Regions from separate parts of the Homo sapiens genome. Here all the other regions are linked to region 3. Evidence: promoter capture Hi-C in 16 types of primary human blood cells and fetal thymus (Javierre and others, 2016). All regions are on one chromosome and are shown on one strand. The core of a region is centred on a gene start or on the middle of the fragment in contact, and the rest is flanking DNA. Distances in the headings are between cores, read along the strand shown.

The links. Contacts are between HindIII fragments. The CHiCAGO score rates a contact against its expected background, and 5 or more counts as called.
Region 1: a contact is called between a fragment that was not itself captured here and the fragment with the promoter of NCOR1 in region 3, in 1 of 17 cell types (erythroblasts). The highest score is 5.6, in erythroblasts.
Region 2: a fragment that was not itself captured here is called in contact with the fragment with the promoter of NCOR1 in region 3 in 2 of 17 cell types (M2 macrophages and M0 macrophages); the score reaches 6.1 in M2 macrophages.

What each region holds. Positions count from the first base shown.
Region 1 is chr17:15,955,864-15,958,563 of GRCh38, forward strand. All of the region lies in intron 1 of ADORA2B (adenosine A2b receptor), which reads left to right. Among named protein-coding and RNA genes, the nearest start is that of ADORA2B, 12 kb to the left of the region's middle. The HindIII fragment of the contact is 1,610 bases long and covers 497-2,106 here.
Region 2 is chr17:16,519,612-16,522,316 of GRCh38, forward strand. No RefSeq gene overlaps it. Among named protein-coding and RNA genes, the nearest start is that of LRRC75A, 29 kb to the left of the region's middle. RefSeq lists an enhancer at 1,681-1,730. The HindIII fragment of the contact is 3,853 bases long and covers 1-2,705 here.
Region 3 is chr17:16,214,284-16,216,983 of GRCh38, forward strand. It overlaps NCOR1 (nuclear receptor corepressor 1), which reads right to left and starts at 1,251. Exons shown (of 46, transcript NM_006311.4): 1 at 1,079-1,251. RefSeq lists enhancers at 47-963, 964-1,879, 1,457-1,516 and a silencer at 717-1,186. The HindIII fragment of the contact is 4,024 bases long and covers 1-2,700 here.

The sequences.
Region 1 (2,700 bases), core at 52-2,551, 260 kb before region 3:
GTGCACCACCACACGTGGCTAATTTTTTGTATTTTTGGTAGAGATGGGGTTTCACCATATTGGCCAGGCTGGTGTCGAACTCCTGACCTCAAGCGATCTGCCTGCCTCGGCCTCCATAAATGCTGGGATTACAGGCGTGAGCCACGCCTCTGGGATTCTTAATAGGCAGATGGGGACGTCCCCTCCTTTCCTGATCACTGTTCTCTGACAGTTCCCAGTGCTTTCTCATTCTTTGTAAGAGTTTCTTCGCTTTTTTTCCTTTGTTCTTCTATTTTTCAATACAATTTTAGCATTCATATGTTTACTTTTGATGAAGACTAAGGGATTTTAAATTGACTTTGAAAAACATTTTTTAGATTCACATGGTTGAGATTCCTCGTGTGGCAGAGTGTACATAACCTAAACTCTTCCCCTCCCCCACCCGTTATCACTAGGTCTCTAGCCACAGCTTGGGGAGAGTGTGGGAGGGGGAGGGGATCAATGCCACAGCTCCCAAAGCTTGCCCACAGGCTGTCTTCCTCTTGACATCTGTTCTTTTCTTAATCCCATTCTGATCCCTGCTGTTTGCTAGACTGGAGCCTCTCATCCTGGCCATCCATGTTTCCAATTTAGGGTTCCATGGTTCATGCTGATGATCCTGTCCACCTTCTGTTTTTAGAAACTCATAAAAATCTCCGGTTTGCTGATATCATCCTCTACTTCTTTTTTTAGGATGATTATGTGTGTCTTTTTTTTTTTTTTTTTTTTTTTTGAGACAGTTTTGCTCTTACTGCCCAGGCTGGAGTGCAATGGTGCAGTCTTGGCTCACTGCAACCTCTGCCTCCTGGGTTCAAGCGATTCTCTTGCCTCAGCCTCCCAAGTAGCTGAGATTACGGGCACATGCCACCAACGATGCCCAGCTGATTTTTGTGTTTTTAGTAGAGACGGGGTTTCACCATGCTGGTCAGGCTGGTCTCAAACTCCTGACCTCAGGTGTTCTACTCGCCTCGGCCTCCCAAAGTACTGGGATTACAGGCATGAGCCACCGCACCCGGCCTGTGTGTCTTTACTGTCATTAAAATGTGATTTTGTGAGGAGTGATAATTAGGTGGAACTTGGAATGCCAAGGTACAATTTTAATCTGGAGTTTGATATGGTCAGGTTTGCATTGTAAAAGTCACTGGTGGACAGCTGAAGGAAGGAATGGACGGGACAAGATGATATAGGGTAGCCACTTGGCATCCAGATGAGAAGGAAAAAAGCATGACCAGGGCAGAGGCCATGGAGATGGCAGCAGACTCTACAGATATTGGAGACTCGTAGAACCACAATTTCTGCACCAGAGAAGGCTGATGTTTGATGCCAGCCATGGAGTTCAGCAGTCTGGAGCAGAGGAGCCACAGGTAAAATCATATAGGAAAGAGTCCTGAGAACCACAGATGGGCCCTGGAGCCACAATCAGTGAGTGACACCTAGAAATGTGGGTAGTTAGGGCCAGGCTGAGTGGAATTGATGTGCGTGAGATCTGCCATTGTGGAGCAGTAATGAGTCAGCATGAGTGACTGGCAAGCAGATCTGATCGATAGCACATAGTCGTGTGCTTCTGGCTGGAAGACAGGGCACACGGGACAGGTTCAAGAGGACTTGGTGACTCAGTTGGATGTGGACATGAAGGAGAAGAAGACTCCAGGATGACTCCCAGATTTCCGGTCGCCTGGGTGATGCCATCCTGAAGATGGGGGCTTTGGGAAGGTGTTGCCTAGGTTGTGTTTAAGGTGCCTGCAGGTTGAGAGACGCAGTAGTGGTCGAGTCTTGGGGAGTCTGGGGCTGCTAGTTCTTCCACCTGGCTCTGGACCCAACTCCTGCTTTATGGGAGCCCTGGACCGTTCATTATTCCTGCACAGCAGCCTCTTCCCTTCCCCATTTAAATGTGTTCAAACTCCTCCCACCCGTCTCCGCCCAACCTTCTTTGGTGTGCCACCTGTTTTGCGCCAGTCCCGCCACCTGCAGACTTCCCAAAGCAGCTTTCTGTCTATGACATCCTGATTTCCACTGCTGATTTTAGCACCACTGCTGAGTGTTTTTTTTTGTTTGTTTGTTTTGTTTTTTAAACATAGAGAACTACAAAGCTTTATTGAACGACATTGTAGAACCAGGACCTGTCAGGTACACTTCCTTTTTTTTTTTTTTTCTTGAGACAGAGTTTCACTCTTGTTGCCCAGGCTGGAGTACAATGGTGCGATCTTGGTCACCGCAACCTCTGTCTCCCAGGTTTAAACGATTCTCCTGCCTCAGCCTCGCGAGTAGCTGGGATTACAGGCGTGCGCCACTGCATCCGGCTAATTTTGTATTTTCAGTAGAGACAGGGTTTCTCCATGTTGGTCAGGCTGGTCTCAAACTCCCAACGTCAGGTGATCTGCCCACCTCGGCCTTCCAAAGTGCTGGGATTGCAGGCGTGAGCCACCACGCCCGGCCCAGGTACACTTCTTAAACTCTCCCTCCATTCACTTCTCTTAGGCCCCATCTCCACGTCTGCCCCATTCCAGGGCAGCATTCTCCTATCTGGTCTCTCCGCATCCATCCTTGTTCTTTTAGCCCATTCTTCACATAGCTGCAATCTTTCTGAAATGAACCCCTGTGTGCACCTCCTTCCTTTACCCAGTGCTCCCAGTGCCTTAGGATGTCATCCCAGATCTCTCCCTTGCCCCTACTCCCCACCTG
Region 2 (2,705 bases), core at 82-2,581, 310 kb after region 3:
TCCTGAACTTCTGGGCTCAAGCAATCCTCCCGCCTTAGCCTCCCAAAGTGCTGGGATTATTGGCTGAGCCACTGTGCCCAGCCCATACTGTTTTTATAGTGGCTGGGCCATATCGCAGTCTTACCAATGGTGCACAAGGGCTTCGATTTCTCCACATCCTCATCAACCCTCGTTTTATGATTTTTGTTTTGTTTTTCAATAATGGCTATCCTAACAGGTATGAGGTGATTTCTCATTGTGGTCTTGATTTGCATTTCCCTGGTGATTAGTGATGTTGAGTACATTTTCATGTGCTTGTTGGCCACTTGTATATCTTCTTCGGAGAAATGTCTGTTAAAGGTCTTTCCTCATTTTTTTTTTTTTTTTTTTTTTTTTGAGAGGAAGTTTGACTCTTGTTGCCCAGGCTGGAGTGCAGTGGCGCGATCTCGGCTCACTGCAAGCTCCGCCTCCCGGGTTCAAGCTATTCCTCTGCCTCAGTCTCCTGAGTACCTGGGACTATAGGCACACACCACCACACTGGGCTTATTTTTTTTGTATTTCAGAGGAGACTGTGTTTCACCCTGCTGGCCAGGATGGTCTTGATCGCCTGACTTCGTGATCTGCCCGCCTCAGCCTCCCAAAGTGCTGGGATTACAGGCGTGAGCCACTGCGCCCGGCCAGGTCTTTCCTCATTTTTAGGTTGGGTTGTTTGTTTTTGTGGCTATCTATTAAATTTTCGATCCAACTTTTGATTCTGCCATTTACAGAGCACTGTATGTCAGGTATTGTGGGAAGCCCTTAACACACACAATCTCATTTTATCCTTACAACAGCCTTGAAACATAGATACAATAAGAATTCACATGTTACAGATGAGGCATCAAAGCACAGACAGGTTAAACTACATGCCCAAGGTCACATAGCTAGTAAGTGTCCGAGAGGGTCATCAGACCAGACCAATCTGATCCTAGTCCGGATCATAATCTAGAAGCCCTCACTGCATCTCACCACTGTGCAGGTTGATAGGGAGGCTGGGGCAGGGTCCTGTAGCAAATCACAAGGGTGTCTTCTCTATAGTCCAGTGTGCTGGGAAGACAACAGGTTGGGAGGTAGGATCCTGGGATCTGCTGATCTCAGTGCTGCTCCGACTGGCTGGGGAGCTTCTGGCACAGTCACCTCGTGGCGCTTGGCCTTAGTGAGAGCATTGAGTCAAGGGATGGGATGATGTTTTGAAAAAATAGTGTGTCAGAAAGGAAGTACTGCTAGGAGTCCCAAGGCTGGTGCATACATCATGCCGGCGTCTTCCCTCATCTCAGAACCCAGAGCCTGTCTCCTGGCTGGGGGCTCACAGAGGGTCCTGGCTGGTAGAAGTCTTGCTTTTGGTGTGTTAAACACCCACAGAGTTGGAGCAGAGAGGATGGGGAGCCTGGTGCTGGCCTCCTTGTTGGGACTGGCCTCTGCTGTACAGGGGTCTTCAGGAGGCAGAGGGATGGGGTGGAGGGGTTATATGGGTATAGAGAGTTGAGGCTTCCAGGCCCCACTTTGCCATACTAACCCATCAGACTGCAGGCAAGTTAAGCTCCAGGACATCTGATCAGCACCAATTCTTTCCCTTCCCTGGTTCCCTCTCCGCTTTGCCCCGTCTCACTCCACATGAGTACAACCCTAATGGCACCTCAGGAGAACACCTGTCTGCCTTGGAGGAGGCTCAGCCTGAATCTGAGCCTGTCTGCTCTCTGAGTCCAAACTAATGTTTAACCAGGAAGTACATTTCTGTTAGGAAGACTCTTCACTAAAGATGTGGACATCGAAGTTCAGGCAGGGCAGAGAGATTTGCCAGACTGGACTGTCCTGCCATCTAGTGGTGGGATAAGAGGATTAGCTAGCGTCCCCTCCAGCTGTGGCTGCCCTGGAGAGAACAGCAATTTTTTTGGAGGGTAAGAGAGGGAAGAGTGGTTTGGTAAATGCACCGTCATTACTTTAAGGCATAATCCATGGCAGTACGCTCTTAGTTGCTTGAGATATCTAACCAACTGTTGGGCAAAAAGCAGCATAAATTTTGGCACCTGCGAGAACACTGTAAGTTTTCTCTAAGGGGTCACCTACAAATGCCATCAGAGGTGGGACTTTGGAAATGTCGAAGTTTGGAACTCATATACTCAGAAGTCACTGGTTCTTGCTAACTTATATTGACACATCACAGTAGAGGTGGATTCTAAAGATTCACTCTAGGCCAGGCACAGTAGTTCACACCTGTAATCCTAGCAGTCTGGGAGGCCAAAGTGGGAGGATAACGTGAGTCCAGGAGTTTGAGACCAGCCTGAGCAACATAGTGACACCTCCTCTGTACTATTAAATAAAATTAGCTTGATGTGGTGGCATGCACCTGTAGTCCCAGCTACTTAGAAGCCTGGGTGCTTGAGCCCAGGAGTTCAAGATTTCAGTGAGCAGTGATTGTGCCACTGCACTCCAGCTGGGGTAACAGTGAGAGACCCTGTCTTAAAAAAAAAAATTAATTCTAGAGATGTGTTTTCTCTGATTTGATTTATTTTGGGAAACAAGTAGCTCTGAAACTAAAAAATAGTTACAGTGAAGACTCTAGAAATTCTGAAAATGATTACTGAAATTGTCCTACTGTTTCCATTTATTGGGAGCTGTATTCCTGAAATTGATGCAATAACGGAGATGTAGTGGAGAAGGGAAGCTGGGAGAAGGGGAAAGAGAAA
Region 3 (2,700 bases), core at 1-2,500:
ACAGGACAATCACATGTGACCCAGCATCAGCAGCTATTGATCAAGATATATTGAACGAATGAATGAATCTTTGTAGGCATTTTTAAATCCCGGGCCTGTTGCTCCTTGCACAGTGCCATGTTCAGCCTTCCATCACTGCCTCACCAGGGTGCACACAAGGAATGTAAATTTCAATATAATTAGGATATAATTAGAGAAGCAAATCTGATGCAGGTTTACATACTAATCCCAAAGATTAGAATTACCTATACTACTACTCTCCAAGGTTAACTCTGTGGAAGAGGCACCGCAGCATGCAACATCACATAAAGAAAACTGACACTTCCTGAGCAAATAGTTTTCGTCCATATCACTTATTCCCATCCATTCCTTTAATACATGACTATTCCTGATCCAGTTAATTTGAAGAATTCAGTCTCCTCTCCATAAAGGCTGATTTCACAACTACAGTTTCTCAAATTCCTCTCTCCCCAAAAAGGGGTGCACTTACGGACTTCGCTTAAGAAAACACCAACAATAAACGGCAGAAGGTATAGTGTTCGGATCTTTGCCATCTCCACCAGTACCCAGCCTTCGCCATTACACCCTGAAGCGGTCTGTTAGAAAGGTGAACTAATTTACTCTGCACGCACTTGTCCATGGCTGTCAACCTCCGCAGCCCCTTCTACACTTCCAAGTCGGCCACCAACTCCGCCTCAGTGAGCCCAGGCCCGCCACCTGCGCCGGCCCCACCCGGGGCACCGGCTGCCCGCTCTCCCTCGCAGGCCCTGTAGGCTCCGCACGCCCCTCCGCACAGGACACCTCGGGGCCAGCCCCGGCCCGGCCACAGCCCATTCTTCCTCCAAACTCCATAAGCCTCCGCTAGCCCAGCCCGAGCTCCCCGCCGCGCCCGGCTCTCTCCTGGGCTGCCGAGTGGAAGAGGCCAGGCGGCCAGGACGGGTCCCGACCTGCCCAGGCCTGCGACACCCCCCGCCCGGCGGAGAAACCGTCCCAGCGGCTGCTGCCCCGGGAGCCCTCGGAAGCCCCCGGACTAGCAGGAGCCCGGAGGCCGGGGTTGCAGGCGCCAGGGCCTACTCACCGGGAGCTGGCTAAGCGTGGGAGCCGACGTGCGCCCCGGCCTGAGGAGTGGGACGCGGCCACGGCGCGCGGCCCTACACCGGGACCTCGTTCGGCGCGGCGAGTCGGACGCTCACTCCAGCCGCCGCCGCCGCCGCGGCTGCTGCTTCGCCACCTTGGCCGCCATCTTGACTCAACCCCTCTCCCTCCCCCCAGCCCGCGGAGCCGCGGCTAAGGCGGCTCCAGCGCCGGCTCCTCCTCCTTCCGGAGAGTTGGGAGACCAACTCCCTCCGCTGGCCGGGCGCCTCTCCTACCTCGGCGGAGCTTCCCGGGTCGCGCTGCGCCCGGTCTCTTCATGTCTCCTCTAGGCCTGGCAGCGGCGGTCCTCTCGGACGGATACGGGGCCGAGCAGCGCCCAGCCGGATCCAGCGCTGCTGCCATCGTGCCCTGGGCTTGTGCGCCCCCCGCCTGCCCGTCTGTTCCGCGCGCCCGAGGCCTTCCTCAGGCGTGGGAAAAGGAAAAACTCCAGGCCGTGGAAGGGACCCTGCAAACCCCTCCGCGGCGTGGTGGGGCGGCGGCGGCCTCCTCTGGCCGGAGCTGCGTACAGGGAAGCCGGTCCCCTCGTGGCTGGGAGCTGGAGGGGTGCATTTCGACCTGCCCAAGATACTTTCTAGGGCTCTGGCTGGAATTCGCACCAAGCCCTCACTGAAATGCTGGGCGAGGCCGATTTGTCCACGATGTTGCTCCTTAACCTTAAGTTACTTGCAAGAGGAGCCTGTGGCCCTCGCGACTGTTAAGTGCACGCTCAGCCTCACCCTGCTGGGGAAACGACGGTTCCTCGTAACCGCACGCATACGTTCCTTTAGAAAAGCCAGGCCCGACCGGACGCAGTGGGTCACGCTTGTAATCCCAGCACTTAGGGAGGCCGAGGCGGGCCATCACTTAAGGTCAGGAGTTCGAGACCAGCCTGACGAACATGGAGAAACCCCGTCACTACTAAAAATACAAAAATTAAGCGGGCGTGGTGGCGCGCGCCAGTAATCCCAGCTACTGGGGAGACCGAAGTGGGAGAATTGCTTGAACGCGGGAGGCTGAGGTAGCAGCGAACCTAGGTCGCGCCACTGCACTCCAGCCTGGGCGACGGAGCCAGACCGTTTCAAAAAAAAAAAAGAAAGGGCCGGGCGCGGTGGCTCAGGCCTGTAATCCCAGCACTTTGGGAGGCCGAGGCGAGCGGATCACGAAGTCAGGAGTTCGAGACCAGCCTAGTTAACATGGTGAAACCCCCTCTCTACTAAAAATACAAAAATTAGCTGGGCGTGGTGGCGCGCGCCTATAGTCCCAGCTACTCGGGAGGCTGAGGCAGAAGAGTCGCTTGAACCCGGGAGACAGAGGTTGCAGTGAGCCGAGATCGCTCCACTGCACTCCAGCCTGGGCGACAGAGCCTCTCAAAAAAAAAAAAAAAGGTAAAGAAAGCCATCCAAAAGTGAGAAGGAATAACAAAGTTGGTGTAACTGGCTATTTTGGAAAACTGTCATACGGATAACGGGCTGTCTAACCCTATAATTACGAGAAAGGCCCGAGTTTTAAGAAATGAATTCGAAAATGAAGAGGAAGGAACTCTTCCTATAAGTGGGAGCTTATATA